2 separate regions of the Homo sapiens genome follow, and region 1 is linked to region 2. Evidence: promoter capture Hi-C in human tissues and cell types (Jung and others, 2019). All regions are on one chromosome and are shown on one strand. The core of a region is centred on a gene start or on the middle of the fragment in contact, and the rest is flanking DNA. Distances in the headings are between cores, read along the strand shown. Region 1 has its middle 29 kb from the start of L3MBTL3. Region 2 holds the start of ARHGAP18 (Rho GTPase activating protein 18).

Evidence for each region. Contacts are between HindIII fragments. The study calls those that stand out against the background at their distance.
Region 1: a contact is called between a fragment that was not itself captured here and the fragment with the promoter of ARHGAP18 in region 2, in 2 of the 25 tissues and cell types used here (IMR-90 fibroblasts and aorta).

The regions. Positions count from the first base shown.
Region 1 is chr6:129,988,608-129,991,307 of GRCh38, reverse strand. No RefSeq gene overlaps it. Among named protein-coding and RNA genes, the nearest start is that of L3MBTL3, 29 kb to the left of the region's middle. The HindIII fragment of the contact is 7,110 bases long and covers 1-2,700 here.
Region 2 is chr6:129,708,762-129,711,461 of GRCh38, reverse strand. It overlaps ARHGAP18 (Rho GTPase activating protein 18), which reads left to right and starts at 1,285. Exons shown (of 15, transcript NM_033515.3): 1 at 1,285-1,438. The coding sequence starts at 1,326. RefSeq lists a silencer at 932-1,011. The HindIII fragment of the contact is 16,000 bases long and covers 1-2,700 here.

The DNA.
Region 1 (2,700 bases), core at 165-2,664, 280 kb before region 2:
CCTCCCAAAGTGCTGGGATTACAGCCGTGAGCCACCGCGCCCGGCCTCCATTTTGTAACTTTCTACACTGTCTAAATGTTTTCACCGTATACATGTGTTATTACTCTTTTTTTAAATGTTTTAGAGAAAGGAGATTAGGGCATACACTTTTTTGGTTGTTTTATTCTTTGTACCTCAGTGTATTTTTTTTAAGCATTGCAAAAAATTCCCCATATTAAATGCTTTCCAAAATCATATTTTAGTAGTCCGGTAACATTCTACCATGTAACACATATCATGATTTATTAATCCCTTTTGTTAAGTATTTAAATGTACAATGTTTTGGCAGTTATAATACTAAAATGAGTATTTGATATCTTGAGATAAGTTCTGGAAGTGGAATTGCCGAGGCAGTAGTAAAATTTTGCCATTGATAACCCTTCTAAGAACAGCAGGTATTAGAGTACTCTCCTGGGTACCTTGAAGGGTTTGGTATCAACTCTGGAATACGAAATTTGAAAGAGCTAAAATGCTCTGCGCAACACAGAATTTTGAACCCCCAGAGGCAATTGGGGGAAAATAAGGCAGGGAAATAAGACATAAAAATGTGTGCTTCAAGGATGCAGGATGCGGCCCCCTCCCTGTGAGTGGATTTCTATTGGAGACTTGTGAAGAAGATGAACTGTTACACAGAGAAACAAAAACAGCATACAGCCTGAGGCCAATTACACCATCGAGCATAAACCTGGGAGTTAACAGGAACCATGGGGAGGACTTGAGAGTGTCACCAATCAGGGAGCTGGGCATGGAGTTGAATATAACTGACTTGCTTTCTCAGGCCAGACTTTCCACTTCTCTTTACCATACACACCCCTCCTCTGAGGACCTCTGTTTTACAGGTTGGTAAAATCTTGTGATCTATATTACCAAATTGCCTTTTGTAGGGCAGGGGATGTACACATTTATGCTTTCACCAGCCATGGAGAAAGAGGCCTGATACACCCCACCATCACCAATACTGGGTATTACAGTTTTTAAACCTTCAGCAATTTAATGGAAATTTTTTTTTCTCATTGTTTACTTATACATGATTTTACATTTTAGAAAGGTTGACAATTTTTTCATCTTCATCTCATTTCTTGGAGAAAATAGAAGCCATCAAACAGGACCCTATTTATCAAAACACACTGATATAATAGATACCACCTCTATGACACTTGGTATGTGTTGGACATGGTTTAAGTGCTCTTATAAATATTAACTCATTTAAAAATTCACATGACAAATCTATAACATAGGTGATACTTTCCCTGCATTTTATAGGTGAAGAACTTGAAGTCTAGAAAGAGCATAACTTGACCACACTTACAATAAATGGAAGAAGTTGGATTCCAGCCTGGTTCCAGCTCCTAAACTCTCTGACATGCTACCTCTTCTTTCTTTCTCCATCCTTAGCAACTTAGCTTCATCATGTCCCCTCCACTGCTTTTAGGCCCTTTCAAATGTCAAAGGCCAATCCTTCCGTTCTGCTTTGAGAGCCAGTGCTCCTGCCTTCTAAGAGTCCTCTCCATCCATTCTCTTCCTCTCTCTTGCTCATCTTCAACATCCCTTCAGTCCTAATATCACTCACCTTAAACAAAAAATAAAAATGAAACAATCACAGTAAAAAGGAAACAACAACAAGAACAAACCTGTCAAACCTATATTTCCTTCCCTCTACCACAGATTTCCTCTGTATGATTATCTGCACAGTCTCTAGGCTTTCACCCTCCATTCCTACTCAATCCACTCCAACCTTGTCTCTGCTTCAACCAGCACACTAAACTGCATTTGCCAAGTGCATCAATGACGTTAGTTTTTTTCAAATCCAAGGGATTTTAAAAATTTAATTAGATACACTGGACCATTCCCTTTTTTTGATATACTTGATAGACTACACACTTAGGATTTTTATTTTATGCTCTGTGTAGCAATCTCAGTGTTGTTAGCTCCTCTTCCTATGCCTAACCTCTAAATCTTAATTTTCATGAAAACTTAGACCTTTTGTCTCTTTCCTTCTCACTGTACTCACTCTCTCAAGTTGACCATATTCAGTCTCATGGTTTTAAAAACTATTGTCTAACAGGTGATGCCTCCCTAATTTATTTTACGTGCCAGTTCCACTGGGATGTGTCTCAGGCATCTCAAACTTAACCTACCAAAACTGAATTCTTTATTTTCCTACCAAATCAGAAATATTCTTTCCTACCCCCTACACCTAATAAATTCCATGATGTCAGGGGTGAAGTTTGTGTTGATGTCTAGAACCTAGCATAGTTACTTATATAATACATAGGTGATGCCAATCAATGAGTTTAATGAGTGAATGAATGAATTGAAATTTTTTGTTTGAGATAATTTGGAACTCTCTTTATAGATCTACATTATAGATCTATAAAGAATTATCTTTATAGATCTGCATTATTAACCAATTATAGACTTACAGATCTGTAATTGGTTAACAATGCACATTCAAAATTAGTGAAAGAAAGAATATATATAGTGAATGACTGAAAATTAGGAAGGGACTTTAGACATTTTTTAGTATATAAGGTTTTAGAATTGAAAGGAATCGTAGTTCAGATGTCTTGTTTTATAGATACAAAAATTATTGTTTGTTAACTTGCTTGTCCAATATGACATTAGTCTTGTTAGAGCTGGCATAGAACCTAGAGTCTTGTT
Region 2 (2,700 bases), core at 36-2,535:
GAGCCCAGGAGTTCAAGACCAGCCTGGGCAACACAGTGAGACCCTCCCTCTCCACAAAGCATAAAAAAATTAGCTGGGCGTGGTAGTGCATGCCTGTGGTCTTAGCTATTGGGGAGGCTGAGGCTGGAGGATTTCTTGAGCCTGGGAGGTTGAGGCTGCAGTGAGTTACAATCACCACTGTACTCCAGCCTGGGTGACAGAGTGAGACCCTGATTCAAAAACAAACCAAAAAAGTGATTTTTTTTTTTGGAGGGGAGATGGGGAGAAAGAACAGAGCTGTCTTTTGTGTTTATGATAATTTTGATCTTGTTTCTTAATCTGCAAAACAAAGAAGAGCATACTGGTGAAAAATAAAAGGAATGTAGCCTAGAATTCTGTTCAAATCCAGCTTCTGGCACTAGCAACTGTGTTATCTTAGTGAAGTTACTTAACTCGTCCCTCAGCCTTACTTTCCTTGTGTTATGTATAACACAGATGATAGTGATACCTATCTTGTACGGTGTGTGTGTGTGTGTGAGAGAGAGAGAATTGAATGGAATGAGATAATACATGTGAAACCCCCGTCCATGAGAGCTTGGCATATAGTAGGTGCTCAACAAATGGCAGGGACTTCTCTTGTTCTCAGCAATAACACTTAACAGAGCATTGGTAGGTCTATCCCTTTTTGGTGCTGAAAAATATTTTGCTAAAACAAGACGTATATTTGAGATTGGCTTTATGTGAAAGACGACGACATTCCAGGACACACAATTTTTATGAGGGCATTTTTAACCGGACACAAGGATCAAGCCTTTCTCGTCGTCTGGATTGCAGAGTTTTGCCGCGGGTTCGTTGTTTTTTACTATGGCTAATTTTAACGCTGAACATGAAGGGGTTAAGAAATGCCTTTACTCATGTTACATTAAGTAGCAGAAATTATAAGATAGAGGAATTGGGGAGGGAAAAAAAAAAGCCTTGGCAGCAACTCATGGTTTCCTAAGTAAGACGGCTTGTAGTTACAGTGATGAGTTGAATATACGTTCTGGCAGTTTAATCTGATCAGACTAACTTGGGGGTGGGTGCAACCCGTCGCTTCCACCCTTCGCCTCCTTTAACCAAAGCCGCCCAGAGTGCAATTGTCCAGAGTTGAAACCATGCTGTGAGTTGCAGCTTCTAATTGGAGAGGCAGGAAGCCCTTCCCTGGACAGACCCCGCCCCTCCCCGTGTGAATCGCCAGCCTGCGGGGAGGAGCTGGCCAATGCTAATGAGCGAGTTGCCAGGCGAGACAGGAACTTCTTTCCCCTTCTCTGTGTCAGGATCGCAGAAAGTATGTCCCTTCTCTCACCATGAGCTGGCTCTCCAGTTCCCAGGGAGTGGTACTAACAGCCTACCACCCCAGCGGCAAGGACCAGACCGTCGGGAACAGCCATGCAAAGGCAGGGGAGGAAGCCACCTCGAGGTAAGCCTTCGGAAGCTGAAAACAAAACAAAACCCTCTTACCTGCTCCAGGAAGAAAGTGACAGGGAAGTTGGCGTGGGGAGAAGGGAATTCCATCTGCACGTCGAGCCTGAGCTCGTGCAGCAGCAGTAGCAACGTTTGGCGTGATTTTTATGTACTTTTCATCTCACCTAGTCCAAGTCTGAAATAACCCATATGATTACTGGTGAAGACAGAGAAGAAGGAACTGGGGAGAGGGCTATATGGGCTGTCAGACTAGCTATTTAGCAGGTGCATTTGCACATGCTGAAAGATCAAATAGGTCTATCTGAAACACTTCCTTTCCTATGAAATGGAATTCTTGAATGGGCTCAAGGCACTGCCACTGGAACTGTTCGCTGGGAAAGTCTGCCAAAAAGCAGGGAGGCTGTTCACTGTACTGTACAAGCTGTTGTTGTTAGAGTGTTTTTTTTCCCCCCTCTCTTTGCTGAAAGCAAACCTCTTAGGCAAAAAGCCCAAGACACTGGCCTGTGGCAATATGTTTCACATTCTTTTGTGTATGTGGATTTTTTTTCCCCCAGGCTTTCAAAAAGGAGTTTTTGTCAGGAGATAGCACTCTGCTGCTGGAGTGAAATGTGGTTAATGTTAAATCACTTTATAGGCAGAGAGGGCAAATGTTCTATAGACCACTGAGGCGCAAAGGGTACCTTTCTCCCTATCTGTGTACTTTGTTCCATTTTCCAAGGGCTTTTTTTTTTCTTTCTCTCCTTAATGACCTTCTCACTAGCTGAACATTTTTACCTCCATCAAGATATAAATAGTAAATATTGGCCTAGAAGATTGCAAGAAGCAAATACTAACCTAATAGCCTAGAACACTAAATTAGTTATCGGTAAGCACATTTCCTCCTCAATGCTTAATGTGATAATAAAACCTTCTTTGTTCTTATGTGACTTATGCCTGTGCCTTAAGCTGAAATAATGCTGCCTTTCATTTGTTTTAAAATCTCCAAATATGAGGGAGGGAGAAAAATCAAAGGAATGGCTGTAATACTCAGTGTTAGACTCCCAGCTGACGGGAACTGTTTCTCACATAGCATCCACAGTATGTATTTCATTGAATGAATTCATTTCCAAAGATAAAAAAGATTTGGTGCTTGTGCCTTAGCTGTGTTACCATTTCATTTTCCATCATTTTAAATGACTTAATGTTAAATCATTAAATCAAGAGATCTTGAAGTGTTTTCATCCATTTTTCTGTAATGTATTAGTAATCATTAAGCAG